7 separate regions of the Homo sapiens genome follow, and all the other regions are linked to region 3. Evidence: promoter capture Hi-C in 16 types of primary human blood cells and fetal thymus (Javierre and others, 2016). All regions are on one chromosome and are shown on one strand. The core of a region is centred on a gene start or on the middle of the fragment in contact, and the rest is flanking DNA. Distances in the headings are between cores, read along the strand shown.

Evidence for each region. Contacts are between HindIII fragments. The CHiCAGO score rates a contact against its expected background, and 5 or more counts as called.
Region 1: a contact is called between a fragment that was not itself captured here and the fragment with the promoter of CNTRL in region 3, in 10 of 17 cell types (total CD4 T cells, naive CD4 T cells, non-activated CD4 T cells and 7 more). The highest score is 13.3, in total CD4 T cells.
Region 2: a contact is called between a fragment that was not itself captured here and the fragment with the promoter of CNTRL in region 3, in 10 of 17 cell types (non-activated CD4 T cells, total CD8 T cells, naive CD4 T cells and 7 more). The highest score is 9.9, in non-activated CD4 T cells.
Region 4: a fragment that was not itself captured here is called in contact with the fragment with the promoter of CNTRL in region 3 in 1 of 17 cell types (monocytes); the score reaches 6.1 in monocytes.
Region 5: a contact is called between a fragment that was not itself captured here and the fragment with the promoter of CNTRL in region 3, in 8 of 17 cell types (activated CD4 T cells, erythroblasts, naive CD8 T cells and 5 more). The highest score is 7.2, in activated CD4 T cells.
Region 6: a fragment that was not itself captured here is called in contact with the fragment with the promoter of CNTRL in region 3 in 12 of 17 cell types (monocytes, erythroblasts, neutrophils and 9 more); the score reaches 11.1 in monocytes.
Region 7: a contact is called between a fragment that was not itself captured here and the fragment with the promoter of CNTRL in region 3, in 10 of 17 cell types (naive CD8 T cells, non-activated CD4 T cells, total CD4 T cells and 7 more). The highest score is 9.1, in naive CD8 T cells.

What each region holds. Positions count from the first base shown.
Region 1 is chr9:120,699,024-120,702,980 of GRCh38, forward strand. All of the region lies in intron 1 of MEGF9 (multiple EGF like domains 9), which reads right to left. Among named protein-coding and RNA genes, the nearest start is that of MEGF9, 13 kb to the right of the region's middle. The HindIII fragment of the contact is 3,030 bases long and covers 318-3,347 here.
Region 2 is chr9:120,622,767-120,626,231 of GRCh38, forward strand. All of the region lies in intron 2 of MEGF9 (multiple EGF like domains 9), which reads right to left. Among named protein-coding and RNA genes, the nearest start is that of CDK5RAP2, 44 kb to the left of the region's middle. The HindIII fragment of the contact is 2,372 bases long and covers 749-3,120 here.
Region 3 is chr9:121,073,003-121,076,978 of GRCh38, forward strand. CNTRL (centriolin) reads left to right here and starts at 1,953. Exons shown (of 44, transcript NM_007018.6): 1 at 1,953-2,065. It also overlaps a transcript of C5 not described here. RefSeq lists silencers at 1,217-1,413, 2,038-2,097, 2,218-2,357 and an enhancer at 1,528-1,917. The HindIII fragment of the contact is 4,047 bases long and covers 1-2,925 here.
Region 4 is chr9:120,598,391-120,602,079 of GRCh38, forward strand. It overlaps MEGF9 (multiple EGF like domains 9), which reads right to left. Exons shown (of 6, transcript NM_001080497.3): 6 at 2,421-3,689. Among named protein-coding and RNA genes, the nearest start is that of CDK5RAP2, 20 kb to the left of the region's middle. The HindIII fragment of the contact is 7,657 bases long and covers 1-3,689 here.
Region 5 is chr9:120,573,529-120,577,479 of GRCh38, forward strand. The region is part of intron 1 of CDK5RAP2 (CDK5 regulatory subunit associated protein 2); the gene reads right to left. Among named protein-coding and RNA genes, the nearest start is that of CDK5RAP2, 4.7 kb to the right of the region's middle. The HindIII fragment of the contact is 1,838 bases long and covers 579-2,416 here.
Region 6 is chr9:120,658,209-120,662,008 of GRCh38, forward strand. It overlaps MEGF9 (multiple EGF like domains 9), which reads right to left. Exons shown (of 6, transcript NM_001080497.3): 2 at 1,166-1,367. Among named protein-coding and RNA genes, the nearest start is that of MEGF9, 54 kb to the right of the region's middle. The HindIII fragment of the contact is 2,106 bases long and covers 723-2,828 here.
Region 7 is chr9:120,640,304-120,644,148 of GRCh38, forward strand. The region is part of intron 2 of MEGF9 (multiple EGF like domains 9); the gene reads right to left. Among named protein-coding and RNA genes, the nearest start is that of CDK5RAP2, 62 kb to the left of the region's middle. The HindIII fragment of the contact is 4,292 bases long and covers 1-3,845 here.

The sequences.
Region 1 (3,957 bases), core at 583-3,082, 370 kb before region 3:
ATCATGTTTGTGCTGGATCAGACACAAGAAAAACAGTCACTGACTTGATTCTGCCAGGGAGTACCAAGTCTCAAGTAAAGCATCATATGGGGTCTTAGATCAAAATAGATTTACTTTCTTTTTGGTGACATGATAAATAATTTAAATGTGGTGAATTTTTTCACATTTTGATCTGTCTTATATTGGTCTTCAGAAGACTGTTAAATCCTACTTGCACCTCTGTTTTCATAACAAGCAAGTGATCTCATTTATTATCATGAGAAATGAAGCAATATATGCAGTAATAAAATATTAAACTCAATCAGTGATTTTAAAAAAGCTTTATGGGACAGCTTTTTTCTCTATTTTTCATTTTCTACAATGTTTATTGTAGAAAATGAACATAGATTATTTTTATAATTGTAAAAAAACTGGCCAGGTGCAGTGGCTCACACCTGTAATGCCAACACTTTGTGAGGCTGCGATAGGAAGATTGTTTGAAGCCAGGAGTATAGTATCAGCCTGGGCAATATAGCGAGACTGCATGTCTACAATTTTTTTTTTTTTTAAATTAGCTGAGCATGGTGGCACATGCCTGTAGTCCCAACTACTCAGGAGGCTGATATGGGAGGATCACCTGAGCCCAGGAGTTCGAGGCTGCAGTGAGCTACAATCACACTACTGCACTCTAACCCGGGTGAAAGAGTGAGACCGTGTTTCTTAAAAAAAAAAAAAAAAAAAAGTAAGTAGAACCCATTCTAAACAGATCAACCAAAAATAATATTACATAAAGCACAACTTATATATGTTGTGAGTTTAATATGAGATAAAGATTATTTTGTTTTCTCAAGGTAGTGGGGAAGAAAAATAATACTAAAGGACCTCAAACCTTTGGAAAACACCATAATTGTTAAATTATACAAATATGTCAACTACAAAATAGCATAAAAATATATTTTGTGTAAAGAAGCCATATATAAATGAATGTGTTTATTTCTTTGTTGTGTTTAATCAAAGCTATCTTGGTCACATTCCATTATAAGCTAATATAAACCATGTAACTTGGAAAGAATATTAAAGCCTTTATGTCTGAGAAAGCCCAAAGTAGTTTACATGTGTTACTTCTCAAAAACCTTTGGTGACTGGAAGTTTCATTTTATAGTCTGGGAAACTGAGTCATAGAGTCATCAAAAAATATACTCAATAACTCAAAAAGTGAATAGAAAGACTAGAATTTAGTTCTTCTGACTTCGATTCTACTGATTAGCTGGACCATCCAGCCCTGCCTTTGCGGACAAGTTGAAGCAACAAACTAACTTAAAAACTAAAACCAGTTGAACAGGATAGGTTTGCAGGCAATACACCAACAATTCAGTATAATAATACCCAACAACTAGATTGCTTTGGGTTTTTGGTACACTTTATAACTATTCAATAACTCACATAACATCAATAGATGGTGGGACTATAATGTTAGTGCTATTCATATAGAACTGATAAAACACACTGTAGGATTACAATAAATATAAAATCACATGAAAAATCTACAGCAGAAAAAGCCCAATGCCTTCCTCTCATCAAGACTCAATAAACAAACACAACAGGATAAATATATTGGAATGCAAGTCCTTCCCCCCCCGTTATTTCCAATAACCCTTCCCAATCCCTATAATGATTAATAGGACTTAAGAGAATCTAAAAATCTATTCAAGTTATCCAATTTCCTTCAGAGTGAATAACATCTACACTTTTCCTAGAATATTTTTAAAGAAATTTCATCTTTAAAGACCGTTTCCAGGCCAGGCACGGTGGCTCACGCCTGTAAACTCAACACTTGGGAGGCTGAGGTGGGCAGATGGCTTGAGCCCAGGAATTCGAGACCAGCCTGGACAACGTGGTGAAACCCTGTCTCTACCAAAAATAATAATAATAATAATAATTAATTTAAAAAATTAGTTTAAAAAAAATTAGCCGGGCATGGTGGTGCACGCCTGTAGTCCCAGCTACTTGGGAGGCTGAGGTGAGTGGATCATTTGAACCCGGGAGGTCAAGGCTACCGTGAGCCACAATCACGCCACTGCACTCCAGGCTGGGTGACAGAGTGTGACCCTGTCTCAAAAAAAAGAAAAAAAAAAAACAATTTCCAAAATTAAAAAGGAGTAGGAAATATGATATCCTCCTTGTAGTTAACAATGCTACTACTTCTCATCTCTTCTTTTTGCTCACATGTATCAAGTAAAAGCACTAGATTATTAAAAATAAATGATAAAAATCTAATAAGATCTGTGATAATATGCCAGTTTCTTGGAAGCATGTAAGACTGAAATAAGTTTTCAGACTCAGTTATCTAAAGGGTCTAAAATTTAGTAAATAAAGGTTATTTAACATTCTCCAGCCAGGCTGACAACATTCCTACTCCTTATCTTTTTCCCTATGACTAGGCAGAATGTATTCCTTTTTCCAAATGAATAAATTTTCCCTTCCCTTAATGCTTAGCTGTCTCCCTGGCAAGGTATCATATAGAACAGCTGTTATATTACCAGTATAACAGCAATCCCGTCTGATCTAATTGGAAAACATATGGACAGACTGAAACCAAACTTTTGGAGGCTCAGTAACTTTAAAGAAGAAATAATCAAATATATTGATAAAGACTATGAACAATGCCATGAATTCAAATTTTGCACAATCTAAACAAGATCTATTTCAATAAGCTACTTTAAGTAATGTTCAAGTGAATGCTTTAAATTACCTAGACAAGGTGGGGAGCAGTGGCTCACGCCTGTAATCCTAGCACTTTGGGAGGCCAAGGCGGGCGGATCACGAGGTCAGGAGATCGAGACCATCCTGGCTAATATGCTGAAACCCCGTCTCTACTAAAAATACAAAAATTAGCCAGGTGTGGTGGCCGGCGCCTGTAGTCCCAGCTACTTGGGAGGCTGAGGCAGGCGAATAGCGTGAACCCGGGAGGCGGAGCTTGCAGTGAGCCGAGATCACGCCACTGCTCTCCAGCCTAGGCGACAGAGCAAGACTCTGTCTCTAAAAAAAAAAATAAAAAATTAATTAATTAAAAAAATTACCTAGACAAAATGAAATGGAGAAAGAGCCAGCTCTCAATTTTCAGCCTCTGCTGAAGGTCTCAGTTAAATTTTGCCTAAAGGTACCAAATCTTAGATATGTCATTCCTACTGTATGTTCAAGATTTGTCAGTCTGCATGAATAGTCTCCTTTATTCAAAACCCTGACTCACTTAGACTAAACAAATACCCTGATATAGATCAAACTTGCTTAGTCAATGACAGAAATTATAGTTAAGTGGCCCTGGGTAATATCATCTGACTTGATCTTATATAAGTAAAGACTTACCAAGCTTATCAGAACTTTTTATTCATTTTTAAATGTTATTCATTTATTTTTAAGACTATAAAATTAGAATTGGATATAGTCACGAAAAAACTTTAAAAATTCAGAAAAACACAAAGAAGGTAATTAAAATTACCCATAATCCCATTACTTAGGTTTAACTAATTAATATTTTGGTATATTTCTCTCCTCATATGTATATTGCTGCTTAATATAATGTAAACATTTTAATGTAAGTTCATAAATTACCAAATTTCTTTATCATAAAATGTTAGAGTAGGAGAATTCCTCTTTCAAAAATCTTTACTGAAAGGACAAATCCAAAATATAAGCCAAATGAAAGAAGAGCTGATGTAAGTGGGGGTGGTGATGTGGAGGTGAGAGGTGAGAGTTGGGTGTGAAAGGTCCAGAAGTAGACCTGTTGGCCTCTCCAGTCCCTATAATGGCTCCCAAACACATCTGAGGAACCCTGGGTCCCCAAATAATACTGTTTAAAAATCACAAATCTAGTCTAACTCATTTAACAGATAAAACTACTTGCTTTTACTAGACAGATAACTAGTAAAAGAACTAATGAAAGAACTTAGGATCCCACATCTTACAGACAAGTGCTCA
Region 2 (3,465 bases), core at 685-3,184, 450 kb before region 3:
AGCAAAGACAATGAATAAAAGTAAATCAATTTAAAAGTTGTATTGAGTAACACCCCAGAAGGGAAAGAAAGCCCAGCTCATGTAAATCATATATACTTACCATATCTCAAAGCCTTGTGTCCAAATAAATCACCTATCAAATTCTGTATTGCTATTAAAAGCTGTCTAGTGTATTGCATAATGCAATTTCTTAGCTAACAAATAATTTTACAGAAAATTTAAAATGGAGGCATTTGAAAGCAGGAGTAATAATGATGATGCAATGAGCTATCATTTATTGAGGGCTTATGTCAATAAATATATTTTTTCTCTAATCCTCAAGGTAGTTCTACCTGGTGAGGGTCATAATACTTATTTTACTACTGAGAAAATTCAGATAAAGTTACTGTCCTCAGCTAGTAAGTCAAGTCTATTCATACAAAGCCAGACTTTTCCCCACCATACTATCTACTCCTAAGATTGACTCTAAATTGGTACAAGAAATTTGTCTGCCAAATAACTTGATATCCACTTAGGTATCAAGCTTCATTCTGTAGATCCAAAGCATTACAATTCACCATCTATATAGGTCCTGACTCCAGTGATGGTGTTTATGCCCTGTCCACAATAAATCTTGCTCTCTTTTCTCACTGCAAGTAAATTTCAGGTCTTTAACAAAGGCTGAGAAATCTTATTGCTTGAAGAGAAGCTGCAGCCTAACAAAGTCAAAGGTTCTCAGAGATAGAAGCCCAAATATTTTGATGTTTAAAGCTTAAATAAAATTTGTACTGATCATAGTATAGGAGATGTTTTTAAAAATGCAACAAAAATTTACATTATCTAATTTATACTATCAAGCATGAATCTATGAATCTTAAGTAATTTAGTAAAGAAAAAAGAAAAGAAGCCACACACATATACGGTCTTACACAAGAATATCCCAAGGTACTTAAAGATCTAGCAAAGAAAACCTGTATTCATAAAAAATAAAATTCAGGAATATTTTATGACTCAATAAGAAGGAACCAGTCAATCGAAGCCACTCTATACTATCAGAAAATTATAAAGAACATAATGTACCTTTCAAAGAATGGCTTACAACACTTCATCAGCTTATTTCCAAGGCTTTTAAAATGTTAATCAAAATATGCTTACTCCTCATTCCTCTAAATATGTTATTCAATATACAAAAGGATAAACAGTTACTTTCAATGATGGTGTTTGCCTAACCCACAACCTACAAGAAGAAGGTATTAGTTTCGAACACAAAATCACTTAATAATATTGTGTAACCATAATATAGCCAATGTTCCCAAAGTAGTTGCTATTCCTGAAGTGGGTTTTCCCTTAATAATTCTTGGGGCACTAAAAGACTTTCTATCTGGAGGATCTGCTCCTTAATTGCTGATTTAAAGTGACTTAATGAATCTTGATAAAGTAGTTGTCTGAGTGTACATACCATGCTTTATTTTTTCCTGGGTGATTTTTGTTCGTTTTTGTTTTTTGAGAAAGGGTCTCATTTAGTCCCCTAGGCTGCAGTGGCGTGATTTCGGCTCACTGCAGCCTCAACTTCCTGGGTTCAGGTGGTCCTTCTGCCTCAGCCCCTCAAGTAGCTGGGACTACAGGTATGCGCCACCACATCCGGCTAATTTTTGTATTTTTTGTGGAGACAGGGTTTTCCCCTGTTGCCCAGGCTGGTCTCAAACTCCTGAGCTCAAGCAATCCGTCTGCCTTGGCCTCCGAAAGTGCTAGCATTACAGGTATGAGACACCATGCATGGCCAGATTTTAAAACAACAAGAAAAAAAAAGGTGCTTTTCTCTCTTTTAAAAGAAAATATAGGCCGGGCGTGGTGGCTCACACCTTTATCCCAGCACTTTGGGAGGCTGAGGTGGGTGGGTCACTTGAGGTCACAAGTTCAAGACCAGTGATCAGCCTGGCCAACATGGTGAAACCCCGTCTCTACCAAAAATACAAAAATTAGTCAGAGTGGTGGTGTGTGCCTGTAGTTCCAGCTACCTGGGAGGCTGAAGCAGGAGAACTGCTTGAACCCAGAAGACGGAGGGTGCAGTGAGCCAAGATCATATCACTGCATTCCAGCTTGGGTGACAGAGTGAGACTCCGTCTCAAAAAAAAAAAAAAAAAAAATGAAGTGAGGAATTTTGGTTGTGAGGCTGCACTACTAGTGCTTTTGCATCATGTTATTCATGGCCCAAGGCCAATTTCTGCATGTATAAGAATTAAATTTATCAGGCATGGTGGCACATGCCTATAGTCCCAGCTACTCAGGAGGCTGAGGCAGGAAGATCACTTGAGCCCAGGAGTTCTAGGCTGCCTGAACTACTCCAACTGCAGTTAAACAGGAATAAACAGCTGGGTCCACTTATCTCAAATTAAACCTGTCTCTCATAAAGCCCCACAGACCAAGAAACACAGGAGACTAATCCTGCAACCACCCAATGGGTTCACCTTGCCCACTGCCTAGGCAGAGCTGATTTATCAAGATGGGGGAATTGCAATACAGAAAGAGTAATTCATGCAGAGCCAGCTGTGCAGGAGACCAGAGCTTTATTATTACTCAAATCAGTTTCCCTAAGTATTCAGGGATTAGGGTTTTTAAGGACAACTTGGTGGGTGGGGTGAAACCAGGGAGCCAGAAGTGCTGACTGGTTAGGCAGGAAATGACATCACAGGGAATTGAAGCCATCCTCTTGAGCTGAGTGTGCCATGATCGGGCCTGTGAATAGCCACTGTACTCCAGCCTGGGCGACACAGGGAGACTCTGTCTCTTAAAAAAAAGATTTAAATCGGCCAGGTGCAGTGGCTCATGCCTGTAATCCTAGCACTTTCGGAGGCTGAGGCGAGTGGATCACGAGGGCAGGAGTTCGAGACCAGCCTGGCCAACATAGTGAAACCTCGTCTCTACTAAAAATACAAAAATTAGCAGGGCATGGTGGCACACACCTGTAGTCCCAGCTACTCGGGAGGCTGAGGCAGGAGAATCGCTTGAACCTGTGAGGTGGAGGTTGTGGTGAGCCAAGATTGCGCCACTGCACTCCAGCCTGGGTGACAGCAAGACTCTGTCTCACAAAAAAAAAAAAAAAAAAAAAAAGAAAGAAAAGAAATCACTCAGCAAATATAAAGCTTTGCCTGTGTGACTTCCTTCGTAGAATAAAGACTTTACAACACTCCCTTTCATGGTCTCTCTCTGTTAAAGACTTGAATGCTTTCTGAAGCAAAGGTCAATGATATAAATGCAATGAAACCAAAAAAGAAAAAAAAAAGGCTGTGAACAGACCACTTATGCTTATCCATAGATTTGAAATGAAAGAACCAAAACCCACAGCTTCATAACTGGAGAATAAATGTGTAGAACTGGATTTTAAATAGAAATCAGACATCTGTACTATGAGATCAGCTAACAATTTAAGATAAAATTTGCTTATCTGGTCTTAATGACATGTTGCTAGTAAAGTACCAAGATAGC
Region 3 (3,976 bases), core at 703-3,202:
TAAATCAAAGTAAATCAAAGACACATCTGCATCCCCATGTTTATTGCAGCTTATTCCCTGTTGGACGTCCCCTGAATTTCCTATAGAGGTGAAGCCATCTCTGCCTTAAGGAAAAATGAAGTGCCTAATACTGCTTATAATATGGTCCCTTTTCCAGATTTAGCTTCTCCACCCCAGATTTTTGCACAAGCCATACTGAACTACTTCATGTTTCCATACTCATGTTTTGTTCCAGCCACACTGAATTACTTAACATTCAGCACATTGCCAAGCTCTTTTCCCCCGCTTCCGGGGTTTGCACAAGTTGTTCCCTTTGCCAAGCAAATTCTTCCCCACCTCCCTACTCCTTGCCTAAACTCTTCTTTTGGGCGTAGAAAGAAGTATTGCTTCTGGGTAACCTTTGTCTAATAATGAAATATCTAAGACATATTGAGAACTTACTATGGGTCCCTCACTGTTCTAAGTTCTTTCACAGAGATTCACTTTTATAATTATCAGGAAAACTGGACTTTTTTTTTTTTTTTTTTTTTTTGAGATGGAGTCTCGCTCTGTCGTCCAGGCTGGAGTGCAGTGGCGCGATCTCGGCTCACTGCAACCTCCGCCTCCCGGGTTCAAGCGATCCTCCTGCAGCCTCTCAAGCAGCTGGGATGACAAGCGTGCGCCACCACGCCCGGGTAATTTTTGTATTTTTAGTAGAGACGGCGTTTCACCTTGTTGGCCAGGCTGATCTTGAATTCCTGACCTCAAGTGATCCTCCCACCTTGGTCTCCCAAAGTGCTGGGATTACAGGCATGAGCCACAGCGCCCGGCCAGGATTCACTTTTATAATTATCAGGAAAACTGTAGGAAGTGTTAATAGGTAAAAGGACCTCATTTCATAGATAAGGAAACTGAGACACAGAGAGAGAGGGAGTTTCTAAAAGTGTTATACAGGTGGCCTATAAACTCTGTAGTGAAGAAAGGAAATGAAGACAGGATAGAATGATCGCGAGAAAATGGTAAGAACAAGGGACTGGAAGACGCAAGGAAGTTTAGAAATACGCTGGCATAGGGGTCTTTTGAGCAGGCACGCTGCTAAGATGATAGGATTATAGTCAAGGATGGGGAGCGATTGCACTGGGGATTTCTGGAGCGGGTGCAGCCTCTGATGGTAACATGGTCCAGGGTATACCTTCAAAACGGGAGGCTACTGGAGTGAAAGGCGTCAATGGTGATAACACTTTAAAAAAAACTTCAGTGTTTCCCTAGCATCCAGCCCAGTATCTGCTAAATTCTTTAAAATATCTGTTGAATGCATGTCGTGAACGCCGTGCTCATGGGCAAGCCCCAGATGAAGCCTGTGCAAGTGCTTCTTGCTTTAACTCCCTTGTAGCAATCAGAGGAACATCCTCTGCCTAGGATTCCCAAGCTCCCTGAACCTCACGCGACAGCTGGAGCCCAGGCTGCGTCCGCTTTGAGGTTCATCCGAGCCTGGGCAGTTCGGTCCCTGGAGGGAATTCGCTTTAGATACGACTGTCAGAGAGAAGTGTGCTGATAAGAACACTCGCTCATAGCGCGCAAGCATCAGAAGTGGGGGAGGCCGGGGAGGCGCTGCGCCGGTGCCTCAGGCCGTCCTCGGACACAGGCCCTGAGAAGCGTGTCCGTGTTTCAGAGGGTGGCGGCGGCAGCTTTGTCTCAGCGAAGGCCACAGCACTGCGGGCAGCTGCCGCATGAAACCTCGGCTCCCCCTGACTCTGCACCCGACACTTCACCTGCAACGCAATCCGAAGGCGAAGGCACCGCATCCCGTCGGCCCCGCGCGGCCGGAAGCCTCGCGCCCAAGACTCCCCGGCATCCTAGCGCGCTGGCTGCAAAAGAGGCGGGAAACGCCTCCGCGTCCCTTCCAACAGTACCGGAGAGGGAGAGGGGCGTGGCTGAGACTAGCCCCGACCACGCGCGCGCGGCCCCTCGGCAACCGGCACAACACAACAAAATGGCTGCCGCGCCGCTGGGCCCCTGAGGAAAGAGCCCGAACTTCTCCCGCTCTACCTCAGCCTGCGGGACTGCTCGGCTCGGCTTCTAGGCGGTGAGCGTCAGACCTGGCCGAGCCCGTTCCCCGGCATCCGGCCCGAGCAGTGGGGGCCGGCGGCAAAGGCGGGAAGGCCCGGACCGGGCGTGGTGTGGGCCGGCTTGGGATGGATTCGGGGCGGGGGCGCGTGTCTGGGAATTGGGATTGGACGGGAAAGAGGGGAGGGCCCGGAACGGGCGTGGGGCGGTGGATGAAGGAGGGAGGTTTGGATGGGAAGAGGTGGGGACGGCGGGGGCGATTGGGGATGAAGAACCAGAGTGTGGGGAGGTGTGGAAGTTAGGGTGCGGCGCCCAGAAGGTTGTGGGTCCTGCCACCTGAGCTGAGGGGAGAGCTGGGATGTGCCAGCTGTCTGTGGGGAGTGAGCGGGAGAAAGGACAGTTTGGGCGTCCTGACGGGTTGTCACGGTATCGGACGGAGTACAGTGCGTGGAGAAAGATGACAGGATATGGGGACGAAATGCTAAAAGAAGGGGAAGAACAAACACTTCCGTTATATTCGTTAAGGGACTAGAGAATTTTGAAGCCAGACAAACTTGGGTTGAAGCCTCAATTCTGCCACCTTGTGTAACTTAACCAGGTCTGTGACCCTGGATATGTGTCTGAGCCTTCCTGATCATGTTTCCTCATTTGTCCAAATAATTGCGAATCATTTTTGGGTGTTCACTATTTGTCAGATCCAGTTTTAAGCACTTTGCACGTATTAACCTCATTTAGAATTTAAAATAACTTGTATGAGGTTATCATCCCCATTTAAAAAGTGATAGCACTGAGGACCAGAGAGGTTAAGTAATTTGCCTAAGATCACACAGTAAGTGGAAAATCAGAATTTGAACTCAGGCTGTTTCGTTCCAGAATCCAAGCTTTTAACTGTTCAGGTACATTGCCATTTGTAAATCAGGTTAATAATTCTGATCCTATACAGCTAAATCTTTGAGGATTTAAATTTGGTATTGTCTAAGTGTTTAGTACAGTCCTTCAGTCAACAAATATTTATTGTTTATAGAACAACAGACAAAACCTCTGCTCTCTTGTAGCTTATAGTCTAGAAGGAGAAACAGGCAACAACCAAGTAGTTTCACAAATAATGGTTATAAAATGCTATGAAGGAGACTGCTTGGTGCAGAGATCATGGGTAATAGGGAGATAAAATCTTCTGCATCTTGAGCTTAGATTCTAGCATGGTTCTTCCTACATAAAAGTTGCTCAATAAAATTGAATAATTAATGGAAAGAGATGGGAAGCTTGAGTTTTAGGGTATCTGAGCAGAAGAAGAGAGATGGGAGAGGGGATTCAGGCTTTTAATAGGATGGAGAAGGATACGGGGGCTAGAGTATTAGGATGGAAAGGCAAATAGGCAGGCAGTTGGGTTGGGATGAAGAGGAATGGATGGAGGTTTGAGTATTTTGTTTAGGGAGGGGAGTAATTGGAGGTCAGAGTATTGGAACGCATTAGGATGTCAGGGTATTTTCTGGGGTGAAGAGAGATGAGCAGCTTGGGAAGTCTGGATGGATAGAGAAATGTTGAGTCTGGGCACAGGAAAGAACCATAGAGAAATGGGGGAGACTATTACTGTGTTAGGGAACTGGGATAGAATTTGTGGGAAAATTGGCAATCAGAATGGGATAAAGAAGAATGGGAGGCAGAGGTGGGTGGGCAGCACAGAATGGGGGAATTGGCTTTGGAAAGAAAAATGGCTGGAGACTTTGCAGAGGAATCGGAATCAGGATATTTGAAAGGAGGAGAAGATTAAGGAGTAAAAGTATTTCAGTAGGTCAGAGGGTATGGGATGAAGTAGACTTGGAAAGTACTGAAATCCAATTAAAGGGCTAAGGAGAGGGATATGGGGGTTAATAAATGGGGATGGGTATTTGCATATTAGGGAGTCTGTAGAGAGACAGAAGGAGGTCTG
Region 4 (3,689 bases), core at 1,114-3,613, 470 kb before region 3:
TTTTCCTGCCTCAGCCCCCTGAGTAAGTGAGATCACAGGCACCCGCCACCATGCCTGGCTTAATTTTGTATTTTAGTAGAGATGGGGTTTCACCATGTTGGCCAGGCTGGTCTCGAACTCCTGACCTCAGGTGATCCACCCATCTCGGTCTCCCAAAATGCTGGGATTACAGGCATGAGCCACTGTGCCGGGCCGATCATGGATCCTTTTGAGACAATGATTAAAGTATGGGTCTTCTCTCCAGAAAAAAAGAAACACAATTGCATCAATAAACAAAACGGCATGAAATTTCAAGGGTTTCTCAGAACCTCTGAAGCCTATGTAAAATTGACACCTCTCTTGAATAAGAAATATTATCGTATCCACTGAATAGAAGTTTTGTTGCCATACTTCAACAAATAAGTTCACATACCAACTCTTGTATTGTCAACTACCTTTTGTACATAAACCATCACTTACTGAGCACCCACAATGTACCAGCAACATGCCAGATGCCAGAGGCAGAAGAATAAACGCTCCTAATTTCAAGGAATACAGAGTTCACTGGGGAAGGCACAAACTAACAAGTATTTATAATAAAATATATGCAGTAGTAGAAGTATTCATTAGGCAAAATGGAGGTACAAATTTAAGAATTGATCAACTTTCCTTTATCAAAGGTTTGCAAAGAATGAATGAGCATTCTCAAGGATATTATAGGTAGGGGAAACAGTACCAGCAAAGGAGGAAGACATCATATAACCTGGCATATGTAGGAAATTGTATGAGTTTAACATGGTTGAATTGGAATAGTAATTAACGTGGCAAGAGCTGAGACTTTTCCTTCTTTGGGTCAAAGATTGAAAGAACCAATACTGACATATACAATTTCAGCAGTTTGTCTAACAACACAAAGGAAACCACAAAAGAAGATTTCCTCCCAAATACTTCTTTTATTACCCAAACCTACTCTTATTACATACAAAGAAAACATTTTGCCTGTTTTCTTTTGCAACTGTTTGAAGTGCAGTGTTCCATTCAACAGACAAGGTTTAAAATCTACTTATTATTAATACAAACAAGCAGCACATTGTAAATTTAACATTGTCTGATGGCTTTCATTTTGTACACGGAAGTACTAGAAAGCCTGTACAATTACTACAATAATTCCTCATAAAATTGCCTTGAAAGACTAACTTATAGGTAAAACTGCAATTTTAACATTGATTTAGATAGAATGTTGATTTTCAGCCTGTCAACACTCCTAATGCTATCATCTCATGAAAAACGTTTTTAATTCAGCTTAACTTTTTTTTTTTTTTTTGAGACGAAGTCTCGCTCTGTGGCCGAGGCGGGAGTGCAGTGGCGCAATCTCGGCTCACTGCAAGCTCTGCCTCCCGGGTTCACGCCATTCTCCTGCCTCAGCCTCCCGAGTAGCTGGGACTACAGGCGCCCACCACCACGCCCGGCTAATTTTTTTGTATTTTTAGTAGAGACGGGGTTTCACCGTGTTAGCCAGGATGGTCTCGATCTCCTGACCTCGTGATCCACCCGCATCGGCCTCCCAAAGTGCTGGGATTACAAGCGTGAGCCACCGCGCCCGGCCAATTCAGCTTAACTTTTAAAATATAAGTAAGCACACTGTTACTTTGAAGTTACTGACTTAATTATAATGGAGCATGTGGAATTTTTTTAAAACATAGATGTTTTATACTCCTATGGAAAATGAATACAACCAGTTTTGATAATGCAACCTCGCAAATGTCCTTACTTGTTTGTATATATATACTTTCTCTTGAAACTGTAATTTGTTTAGATTTCTGCCATGCTTATTCTTTTCCCTTAATACCCAATTCATATACATCACAGAACCACATGTATAAACATAAGGTGTTATTATAAAGTGATAAAACCTGTTTTCTTGTGTGGCTAGAAAAGAAAAAATAGAGTTTAAAAATTTAAATGTTAACCAACTGAAGTTGAATAAAACAGTTTAAGTTTATAAAGCTCTCAGCACAAAGAAATGCCTGACTTTTTCTTTTTTTTCAAATAAAGGAATCTCTCAGATGGCATCCCATTAAACACCATCTAGCTTTGTCAAAATACAGGTTCTTCAAGAGTAGCTTAAAATATTAAAAAGATGTACTCTCATTACAAGTTACTTAATAAACAGGTAGAATATGGTTTCTCTTCAGATTTCTACCAAAGAAAGGAAATTCTTTATATGTGTGACAAAGAAATCCAAAGCGAGCAAGTTTTCTCTATAAAATCCGACGGATGTCAGAGGGAATAGGCAAAAGCACAAACAAAAATATATGTTAATATATTTTCTTCTCAGGTTTTGTTTTCCTCTAAGAGAGGGAATCTTCTTCATGGATTTTTTTCCCCCCAAGTAGAAAACATTCTTTAAATGAACTTAAACAAAATACATGGCCAATAAATGAAGAGTTCAAAGATTTTTATGAAGTGGGCTGAAAGTAAATGATCCTTGGCATGTATTTGAAGACATGAAACAACTCTGACCACACAAAAAAGTAAACAACAAATCTACAATAGGTACAAATTATATACATTTATTTTTAATAATTTTAAATAACACTCTTGTATAAATTCTTTCATATATTCAAATCATACACAAATTTAGAAATGCATGATGAAGCCTAGTACAGCATATGTATGAGACACATTTTTTAAGTTTGTGTTAGAATTTTAGTGACATAAATACAAGTTTAATGTTTCAGAAACATTCCCTAATTGCTCGGCCTATAATTTAATGTATTATAGAGTGCTTATGCCTAGCATTACAACTTGACTTTAAATCATTTAGCTTTTGGACTAACTTAGATCTGAAGCCCTGGGCTTACTTTCTAGGGCTGCTGCTGCAGTAACAAGTAACAATTCCTACCCACATAGCCCAAAATATAGGAACCAGGGATGTTCATTATAAGTGGTGTTATGTTCACCAAGCATCCTAAAAAGTGTAGGACCAAGGTGAATGATCTAATAACCCCATTCCAATCAAAGCTGTCAAGAGGAAGTATTGTTGCTTTAGTTTTCTACTCCCAAAACAGCACTTAAAGGGTTAAATATCCTGATGGTACTCAGCTGACCAAAATAAACTAGTAGGTCAGTGAGTATTGCTTTAATGGTCAATTTACCTGGGAATATTGGCGCTAGAGAACAGTGATATAATTTGAGGTGTCTACAAATGTTGTCTAAAAAACCTCTCTCCTCTCATCCCATGTTTCCTCTGTTCTCTACTCTTAAAATCTAGGTATCACTGGGAAGAGTAACGCACTAGGCCCACAGGACCTTAGTATTAATATAAATGAGCTTTAGTTTTCAAATGTCATTTTTTTCTCTATAACTGGAGAAATTCCATTAATAAAAGAACCCTAGGGGATAGAGGGTAGAGGGAGCGAGAGGGGAGTAAGGGAGGACACGGACATACTTAACACTACCTAGGGCACCTAACCATCAGAAATGCATAGGCGCTTACCAAAATGAATTAATGAAGATAAAAGCATCGCTTAATGGCAGTATCTGTAATTTCCAAATAAGATTCACATCAGTGCTATCTTATTTAAAAATAAACAGATTTCCAATCCTTACACAAACATTCTCCCAATATTAGGCTTTCTTTTTCTTCCTTTTTTTTGAGACAGAGTCTTGCTCTGTCGCCCAGGCTGGAGTGAAATGGCGCCATCTCG
Region 5 (3,951 bases), core at 248-2,747, 500 kb before region 3:
ATAGAGTGAGACTCCATCTCAAAAAAAAAAAAAATTTAAAAAAAAAAGTGTCCCCTGTAAAGGTAAATGAAAAAACGTAAACAGAATATGTCCTCAATTATGAAAACAAATATATACAGTACATAAATACTGAAGTCACCTCAAGTCCATTTTGGAAATAGGTGGGCTACAGATATATAACAAGACAAAGGAAATATACTGAAATATTAAAAATCATCATTAGTAGGGAAATGAGAGGTTTTCTTCCTTTTTAATGTTATATAATTCTCAATTTCCTCCAATAAACATCACTAAAAGGACAAAGTCAATTTTCTAAACTGAATTTTAAAAACTAAAATCAAGTTCAACCATCACCTTTTGCAGATGGTGGTCCAGAAGCCCAAGGTCACATACACCAGGTTATTGGCCAAGCTCAGCCTAAGGTCTGGTCCTGCATTCTCAATCTGGGGTTCTCTCCGGGTACCAGAGCCATTACATTAACTCCCACTGGCTAAAACTGCCCATGAATAACTCAAGCCAAGATCAATCACAGCTGAAAAGTACCTAGCAAACAAAGCCAAAGATTCTGGTCTTAGACAAGCTTCCTACAGGCAAACACTGAAGTTTGAAAAATGACATCTGACATCCCAACTCTTAGACAAAACCACTATGTAATGCAGAAATTTTTGCTTGGATCCTGCCAAATTTCCACTCGGGCTTTACCTACCCACTTTTAAAATGCTATGAATCTGTCATCTGCACCCTCCAGTCAGTTCCAACTACACCTCCAGCCACAAGCAGCTCCCTCTTTCCATTCTAATCATTCACTTGTAGCCTTATAATTAAGGCTGGGGCCTCAGGGATACTCACGAGAAATGACAATGTAAGCAAAACAAAAGGGCTCAGATATGATCTTATTCCACAGATGAGAAGACTGAAACCCAGAAATGGGTTAGGAACTTATTTACTCAAAATCACAAAAGTTAGTGGCAAAGCCAAGCCCAAAATCCAGGATCCCAGTGTCTTTTCCACTTGCTAGCCTGTGTGTGGACTGCCCAAAGCTCCTATATAAATGTGACACATGGTGGAGTACCAGTTTCCTCACGTGCAAAATAAAGCACAATCTAAGAAACCTGCCCTTGTATGGGGCACCCATGCTGCACAAGCACCACACTCAGCACAGGACAGGCAGCCTTCCCTTTCATCCTCACCACAGGATTAAAGTCCATTTTCTAAACTGAATGTTTGAAACTAAAATCAGGTTTAATCCTCACTATAGTCTTTCTGCGGCTGGTGGTACTTTTTAATGTTGCCTTTTTTTTTTTTTTTTTTAATGAGGAAACAAAGACCAAAAAGTTAATAGGCTGGAAACTCCAAGCCAGCCTGACTTTAAACCCCCTGCTGTGAACCTACACCACCCTGGTACCCCTGACGCCTTCCCGGAGGTTGGGGGTGGCAGGGGTGTGGTGGTGGTTAAGGGCCGAATGGACTGAGGCATAAAATTTCCATCACTCAGCACAGGGCACAGCCATCATAACGACTGTTTTGTTTTGTTTTGGTTTTTTGGAGACTCTCACTCTATCGCCCAGGCTGGAGTGCAGTGGCGTGATCTCAGCTCATTGCAACCTCCACCTTCCATATTCAAGCGATTCTCGTGCCTCAGCCTCCCAAGTAGCTAGGATTACAGGCATGCACCACCACGCCCGGCTAATTTTTTGTACTTTTAGTAGAGATGGAGATTCACCACGTTGGCCAGGCTGGTCTTGAACTCCTGAGCTCAGGTGACCTGACCGCCTCAGCCTCCCAAAGTGCTAGGATTACAGGCGTGAGCCACCGCGCCCAGCTGTAGCAACTGTTTGTGGATAATTTTTGAGTGACTGAATGGACCTTCACCTGAGCTCCACCACCTCATCCTCCTATCTTGCTCTATTGCTACCGAAAAGGACTGACCTCTTTCTATGCCTACATATGCCAGCAACAATTGTCCACTCAAACCATAAGACCCAAGGGGTCTTATGTCTCCTTGACAAATTGTTTCATGAGAGTCATGGATGAGACCAGATATCACATTCTGACAACGATTACACAAACAAACTCACTTTTGTCTTTTAACAACCCCTTTTTCATTCTATTTTATTCTTAATTAGAGAAAAATACATAAATTTAAAAAAATACAGATAAGCCTAAAGTTCTCCTTGGCTCCTCCTCGCTCCCATCTAGAACCCGCCTAGGAGGTAATCACTGTTTTCAAAAAGACCTATAACTTCCAGAACTTTTTATGTGTTTTTACATAGATAGTTTCAATTTTGCTGCTTAAAAACACATGCAATCAAACAGTATACATCATGCTACAACATCCTTCTTCTACTTAATATGCCCTCATGATGTTTTCATGACAGTACAAATAGATATGCCTCAAAGTTTTCAACTCCTACAAAGCTTTCTACAGCAGTGTTCTTCAAACCTTACTGACCATGAGCCACAGAAGAAATATTATTACCCTTCATCCTTGAAATGTTTTCTATTCTGTTCTATTTTTCTAAATCCTGGTTGCAACCTACTAAATTGAATTTCATGAGCTACCAACGGGCCACAGTCTGAAAGATACTTTTGAAAGGATGTGTATTTACCCAATCCCCTACTGATGATAATTCAATTTGTTTCCAAGTTTTTCTTTTACATGCAATGTCATATGAATGTCCTTATAAGGTCCCATATGCACAAGTATGAGGATTTCTCTAGAATAGATGACAAGAAGTGGAATTGCTGGGTCAAAATATATTCACGTTTTTTAAATGGACGATGGATTTGAATACACATTTCTCCAAAGAAAGTGAACAAATGGCTAAAAGGCACATGGAAAGATGCTCAACACATCAGTAGCCATTAACATGTAATCAATACCACAATGAGGGCCAGGCGGGGTGGCTCACTCCTGTAACCCAGCACTTTGGGAGGCCAAGGCGGGCAGATCACCTGAGGTCAAGAGTTCGACACCAGCCTGGCCAACATGGTGAAACCCCGTCTCTACTAAAAATATAAAAATTAGCCGAGCATGGTGGCACGTGCCTGTAGTCCCAGCTACTTGGGAGGCTGAGGCACCAGAACCGCTTGAACCCACGAGGCAGAGGTTGCGGTGAGCCGAAATTGCGCCACTGCACTCCAGCCTGGGCAAGGGAGTGAGACTCTGTCTCAACGACAAAAAAAAAAAGACCACAATGAGATACCTACCATGTCACACCCAAAGGATGGCTATAATCAAAAGGACAATAAAAATATCAGTGAAGGGCAGGCACAGTGGCTTGTGTCTGTAATCCCAGCTCTTAGCAAGGCAGAAGCAGGAGGATCACTTGAGCCCAGGAATTTAAGACCAGCATGGGTAACAGAGCAAGACTGTCTCTAAAAAAAATTAAAAACAAAAGCCTTAAAAAGGAAAGAAATTCTGACACATACTACAACACGCATGAACCTTGAGGACATAATGCTAAGTTAAATAAACCAGTCACAGAAGGACAAATAGTGTATGATTCTACTTATACGCGACACTTAGAGTAGTCAAAATCATAGAGACAGGCTGGGCGCAATGGCACATACCTATAATCCCAGCACTCTGGGAGGCCGAGGCAGGCACAACACTTGAGGCCAGGAGTTCAAGACCAGCCTGGTCAACCTGGTGAAACCCCGTCTCTACCAAAAATACAAAAATTAGCCAGGCGTAGTGGGGCATGCCTGTAGTCCCGGCCACTAAGTGGCTGAACCATGAGAATTGCTTGAACTCTGGAGGCGGAGGTTGCAGTGAGCCAAGATCACTCCACTGCACTCCAGCCTGGGCAACAAAGCGAGACCCTGTCTCAAAAAAAAAAAAAAAAAATCATAGAGACAGAAAGTAGAATGGTGATTGTCAGAGGCTGGGAGAAGGGGGGAATAGGGAGTTACTGTTTTAACAGGGACACAGTTTCTGTTTTGCAAGAT
Region 6 (3,800 bases), core at 526-3,025, 410 kb before region 3:
ACTCCTGGCCTCAAGTGATCCACCCGCCTTGGCCTCCCAAAGTGCTAGGATTACAGGCGTGAGCCACCGCGCCCAGCCTCTTCTACATTTTTAATAAACTACAATATGATACAATATTCCATAACAGTATAATATCATTTATAAAGCATTTAAAATATTTAGTGCTAAAGTATAAAGCACTTCTTTGTCAAGGAGCTAAAAGTTCTTAAAACATGTTCTCTCATTTCAGTCCATAATATTCCTTTGAAATTAAAACAAACCAGAATTTATTGAGTGACATGTGCTAGGCATTTTATATATATCAACTCATTTAATCTTCACAACAACCTTGAGAAGAAACAAGCTCAGTGAAAGGAAATTACTTGCCCAAGGAACACAGCTCCTAAGTGGCAGCAGATCTTGGGTTATACCCAGGTTACACTGAGTATAACCTGTCATTATTTTTTTCATTATTTAATACTGTCTCTTCAGTTTTTTGACTTGGGGTCCACAAAAAGCCAAGTGCCTCACATAAGGTCAAAGAATAATTACTTTCAGTGCAGTACAAGGCAAATGCTTAGATAACAGTACATTATTCCACTAGATTAAATTACCTCCAAATAACATAATAGTTTAAAGATAATTCCTGCTTAATCTACTTTTGGTCTCAAAAATGTACTGGTAAATAGAGTAAAACCAGTCTACTTACCACTAGTTAAATAAATTAGGGTACCCCCAGGTTAAGCTTTAGATGTCCAAAGAAACAAATGTAGAATTTTGATTAGAGAGAAAAATAAACCAAACAACAAATTTCCTCAAACTCCAATGGTATATTAATAAACATAAGAACATTTCTAAACCTCCTAGCAGGTTTCATGCCTGAAAGCCCTTCCAGAAAGCAGATTTATTCTTCAATAATTTTTTCCCATGAAATTTACAGAAATTATCCCAGAGAAAAATTGGCGACTCTAGTGCTTTTGAAGAACTAAATCAGTAAATTAGATGTTTTTAAATCCTGACATTAAATATAACATATAAAGTAAGAGAATAAAAGTATATAAAATATTTTGTAAATCTATGACCCTCATCCCCCTTTGTTTAAACCAGTATGGTCCTTGAGAGTAGCAGCCTTTTTTTTCCCCTTGCTAAAATAAAATAAACTTCAGTTCCACCCTCTGTTGCTTACCTGTTGCACGGTATGCTGAGAGCTCCATGTGGACTACAGTCACATGGCTGACAGAGCCCAGAAGTGTAATTTAGGTAAAAGCCCTCTTTGCAGGTTTCACAGTGAAGCCCCTGATAACCTGGCCGACACTCACACTGCCCTGTGGTCTGGTTGCAGCGATTCACATTCAGGCTTCCAACCACAGAGCAGTTACATACATACTCTGCAAAGGAAAGAAGGAAAGAGACATTACCAACTAAGATTTAATGCCCTCTTAATAAAATGAACTCTATTTTATTTTTCTTAATAAATTTTCATGACAACTTTGTAAGGATAGATAAAATTAACTCTAGTTCAAATTTACTTTCTATCCCGTTTAGTTTACTTAAATCAGGAAACATATAGAGTACATAAATTATGTAGTGTGTGTGTGACAGTGTGTGTGTGTGTGTGTGTGTGTGTGTGTGTATTATTAGTTTTTCTGAATTAGAAGCCACCAAAGGCAGGCTTATCTACATGGCACTAAGGGCACATGTTGGAAATGACAACATGTTAAATAATAAATAATCCCACTGTATAGCAGCAAAAGCCTAAGGCTCAGATGATTAACTTTGGCAACCGATTCAAGGTCATACTAGATTGTGCCATAGCTAGAATCATAAGCTAATGTGTTCTGCCCAGGAAGAAATTAATGAAGAATAGAAACTTTAAAGTAAGGAAATGATGAACAATAAAACCAGAGGAGAAAGTTTACAGGTTCATCCTGATCTGTGAGTTGAATGTCTTTCCCAAATTAAAATATTTGGAAAATAAACATTTCTTTTAAGTATATTTCAAACAGTTCTTTGTTGTTTGTTTGTTGGTTTCACTTTTTTCACTTTTCGAAAGAAATACTTTAATTTTTAATTTTTGTGAGTACATAGGTGTATAAGGTGTATATATTTATGGGGTACCTGAGGTATTCTGACATAGGCATGCAATGTGTAATAATCATATCAGGATAAACGGTGTGTCCATCACCTTAAGCATTTATCCTTTGTGTTACAAACAATCCAATTATACTCCTTTAGTTATTTTAACATGTACAATTAAATTACTGTCCATAAATTACTAAATTATTGACCACAGTCTATCTGCTGTGCTATCAAATACTAGGTCTTATTCATTCTTTCTATTTTTTTTTGTACCCATTAACCATCCCCACTTCCTCCCCACCACACCCCTGTCCACTATTCTTCGCAGTCAGACAGTTCTTTGGATAAAAATATTGAGAAGCCCTTAGTTTTAGCCTTCTAATGCAAAGACTCATTTAAAGGTCAGTTAGGATTCATTTTTTGCTACTGCCTCTATTCATTTTATCAAAAGGAAAGTGTTTTCAACATAGTTTGACACAGCAGTAACAGAGGACTTTGTATTAACATATGTATCCTAGGAATAGGTCCCATTCCAAAATAGCTATGATCCTACCCTTAAAGGGTCCTGAGAAATCTATGGTACAAATTACAGTTCTAAATAGGTAAGGCACTATATAAAATGGCACTGTACCAACACAGTTTAGCTTGGAAAAAATAATCTTTGATACTATTTTTGATGACTTCAAAAAGCTACTAGACAACTACAAATCCAGACTCTTAAAAAGAGAGTTGTAAAGGGGTTTGCTTCTCCATTCTAGAAAAGGAAATTAAGCTTCAAAATTCTTTATGTAATCACAAGCAGCTTATTTATCCACACAAGTCAAAACAAAAGATTCCTCAAAGAAATTCCCACTTGGCCAACTCTATACCTCCCACACTTCTGCAGTTCCTAACCTTTGGTGTCACTTTATTTCCCTGCTCTTCACAGCTCTTCTAGTTTGTAAAGATAACAAATAACAAATAAATAGACCAGGCAGTGGCTCATGCCTGTAATCCTAGCACTTTAGGAGGCCAAGGTGGGCAGATCACTTGAGCTCAGGAGTTTGAGACCAGCCTGGGCAACATAGTGAAACCACGTCTCTACCAAAAAAAATACAAAAATTAGGCGGGCATCCTGGCATGGGCCTGTAGTCCTCGCTACTCGGGAGGCTGAGGTGGGAGGATCGCTTGAGCCTGGGAGGCTGAGGTTACAGTGAGCCAAGATCTTGCCACTGCACCCCCACCTGGGTGACAGAGTGAGACCTGTCTCATAAAAAATAATTAACGTAAAATAAATAAATAAATATTGGCAGCTTATTTGTTTATTTTATGTCTATTTCAAACTTGGGTGGTTCACAAAACCCAAAGGAAAATTCACATTTCTTCAGCCTCAAGCTTAGGAAAGGAACCAGCTTCCCATTACAATCAAGATTCTTATTTTCACTAGGCTACATAAACATGACATTTCTTTGACAGAGTTACATGTTTTCACATGATAGCTACTTTCTGCGTATGTGTGTTGTGGTTTTTGTAAATAACAAAGCCACGTTCAGTGGTCTGTAAACCTGCCAATGACAACTTCATAACAAGACCTTCACTCCACCAGAAATGACCAGAACACTTAACATTTTTCTTCTGAAATCGGGCAGAAATTCAAATTACATCCAACTTCTCCTGCTGGACCTATTTTATCACCAGTTAACTAATCAAAGTATGTTGGTGTCAGTAGAACTAGCTCAAGAAAAAATGAAAATACTAAAAAA
Region 7 (3,845 bases), core at 541-3,040, 430 kb before region 3:
GGATCCGCATGGCATGCTCTATTACTTCTTTTTGTTCCTTATTCTAATGTCATATTCTCAACATATCTTGCCTAGCCACACTATCTGAAATTGTAATATTTCTTACTATTTAATATACCATAAATTTTATTTTCTTGTTTATTATCTCTCTTCCCATCTAGAATGTCAGTTCTGTGGAATCAGGGGGGTTTTATGTGTTTTTTCCTCTGCTATATTCCCAGTGCCTAGCACAGTGCCTGGCATGTGATAGGCATGCAAACTTTGTTTAATGATTGCATAATCTGGCTCCAAAGTCTATGTGTGCTTTCTTCATTAACTCTTGATGACTTCTAAGCGCAATATTTATTTTCATTTCAGTCCATTTAATATTTTCCATGTACTTAATCTTTTTTAAAATTTTATTATTCTTCTTTAGACTTTTATCGACTTTTTTCAGGGGCTACATATGCAGGTTGGTTACATGAGTAAACTGTGTTGCTGAGGTCTGGTGTATGAATGATCCCATCACCCAGGTAGTACCCAATAGGTAGTTTTTCAACCCTTTACCCCCCGCCCACCCTCCCCCTTCTAGTAGTCCCCAGTGTCTACTGTTCCCATCTTTATGTCCATGTGTACTCAATGTTTAGATCCCACTTATAAGTGAGAACATGTGGTATTTGGTTTTCTGTTCCTGCATTAACTTGCCGAGGATAATGGCCTCCATCTGTATCCATGTTGCTGCAACAGATATGATTTTGTTCTTTTTTACAGCTGCATAGTATTCCATGGTGTATATGTACCACATTTTCTTTATCCATTCTACAATTTATGGACATCAGGATTAATTCCATGTCTTTGCTATTGTGAATAGCATGCACTTAATCTTGACACTTTATGTCACACTTAAATAAACCTCTTAGAATCTTGGAAATAGAATATTCATTCTAGGTGAGCAAAATGAGACATTCAATGACTAGCCCATGATAGGCCAATCAACCTTGTAAGACAGTGATCCCTCAGGTTTGTTCATTAAAGTAAGATAAAGAAGAGCAGATAGAAAGAAAAAGTCCTAGCCCTCAAAGAAAAATCCATTTTGCTCAACCCCAATATTCCATCATGACCCTACTGAATAGGGCCTCTTTAGCTTATACAATTCTCATAAAAACAAAGAATAGAGGTTGAAATGCCTCAAAAAAAACCCTTCTTTCTTAGTTCTAGTTTGCATCTGCATAAGTTGACCTTAGGTTTTGAGGACAACACACTCAGAGCCACCAACATAGATCAGTGGTTCTGAAACTTTAGCATGCTGATTCTTGGGCCCTATCCCAGACTTTTTTATTCAATAGGTCTGGTGTTGGGCCTAGGAATTTGCATTTCTAAGCAATTTCCAGGTTAAACTGATATTGCTGGTCTGGGGACCATAATTAGAGAACTACTCTACTAAATTAACTGTACTTATTTCACTCTATTTTTTATATCCCTATCCCTGACTGGTAAAGCTACTTACTTTCCACTTCCAGGCATAGTGATGAACCCTGAATTTGGTATCAATTCTAACCTAAGAAGAGGGTACTTAAGGCAATCAACCTCAGCGGTCTGTCAAGTCCCATTTGCTACTGGTTCCTTTGTCCTCAGTCCCCTATATTCCTAATGATTAATTACAACTATTGTCCCTAGTTTCTCAATGCCTGGCTCCTGGTCTCAGTGGCCCTGCCTCTCCACTTTCCACCACAATGACTAGGTCCATGACACTTGCTTTCAGACTTCTCACATATCAAATGCCTGCCTTTTAACTTAAACCCAAGCAAGTCAGATGTTCTGACACCCAAACCACAGACCTAGCTTTAAATATTTCTAATGCCCTAATTCCTGCCTTTTCCTTTCCAATGATTCTGTATGTATACTCTTAACAATTTTTATTGTTGCCTTCTGTTCAGTATTTATTTTCATTGTAGCCCAGGTCTGATTTCTAGATTTATATTTCCATAGGCCAGTACCTAAACTGATGAGTCATACTCACCCACAGCTAGCCTTGCACTTACATTGAGATGCTCACACTGCCATATCTAATTTTGCCTATTCTATTTCAGGGTACAGTGGGAAGAGACTTGGAGCCGGACAGATCTGGGCTCAAATCTAAGTTCTGCCATTTATTAGTTATGCCATGTCGCTAAGTAATTTAGCTGCTAAGAACAAAATGGATGAGTTGTCTGAGAAGTCAGAGAGGTTTTATGTGTAAAACATCAAGAATGGAGGTTTAAAGTGTTCAATGAATGTTAATTTCCTTCTGTTCCTCCTGCTGCCTCTCCTGGATTATGCAGCTTCTTTCGGTGAACATGTTAGTCAAGAAAGCTAATATATTTCTCTGTAAAAATGTTTCCTTCAAATATCCACAATATCTGTTTTAATGGACATTCTATTCAATTGCAGAACCCTTTGAAAATCAATTCAAGGCCAGCAAAAGTAAAACTTAATTAAAGTAATGGTCATGGTATATGTGTTGGAAACTGGCAAAAGAGAAGGAAGAGATTTTGTTATTGACAATATAAGCCATACTTGCATTACTGCTTTTGGCAATGTGAGAAACATGCCTATGTTCCTTCTGTAGTGTATGTAGAAAACCCCAAACTGAAAAACTAAATTGAAAACCCCAAATTGTTGAAACACACAAAATATATCACACCAGAATATTCATTTAATCTACACAAAGCCATAATAATGGAATTTATAATTTTTAAACTAGTCCTATATACTATGTCAAAATAATCATGGCTGAAGCATTTGTGTCCCTTTTTATGGAAAATCTAAAGAAACTTCAAGTCCAAGTCTCCCTCTAGGATTGACAAATTTAGGTATTTTGAGAAGAAATCACATCCAGGGAGGAAAAAAAGCTGAACAGTCCCATATTTATCTCCATCCTCTAGGAAACATATTTCTTGCTATGAAAAAAAAAAAATCTGAGATGGAAAAAGTCATGCTGATTTAATTTTCTTTCAGGGAATAGAGAGGAAGACAAAGCCTTCTCTGTGGGAACAAGAGGCCTTCTATTTTAGCCTAAGTCTACTAACATGAGTCTTAGAAGCTATTCATTTTAAACTGCAGAGAAAAAAGAACATTAAAATAGGCTATGAATTTGATTGTACATTCTAACCACAATGTCATACATCTAAAATGGCAGGTCAACAAAGTAAGTTTATTTCCTTATCCTAATTTCTCTTCTGTACTTAAGGCTAAGAATTACCATAAGGACCAACTTTGCCCTCAAATAAATAATACTGTCTATACTCCCTTGAATGACTGCTTCAAATAACAATTTTATTAACTTTCTATTTTGAAATAATATTAGATTTAAAGAGGAGTTGCAAAGATAGTACAGGAAGTTCTAATCTACCATTCATCCAGCTTCCACTAATGTTTCTTTTTTTTTTCTTTTTTTTTTTGAGACAGGATCTAGCTCTGTTGCCCAGACTGGTGCCATCATGGCTCACTATAGCCTTGACCTCCTGGGCTCACGCGATCCTCCTACTTCAGCCTCCCAAGTAGCTGGGACTACATGCATGCACCACCAAGTAGCTGGGACTACAAGCATGCTTGACTAATTGTGTAATCTGTTGTAGAGATGGGGTCTCCTTATGTTGCCCAGGCTAGTCTCAAACTCATGGGCTCAAGCGATCCTCCTGCCTTGGCCTCCCAAAGTGCTGGGATAAGAGGTGTGAGGCACCATGAGGCTCGGCCTGTTTAACTTCGTATGTAATCAGGACATATTTATCAAAAAGGAGAAATTAACAATGGCACAATACTATTAACTACTCAGATTTCCCTAATTTTTCTACCAGTATCCATTTTTTCGGTTCCAGAATCCAATC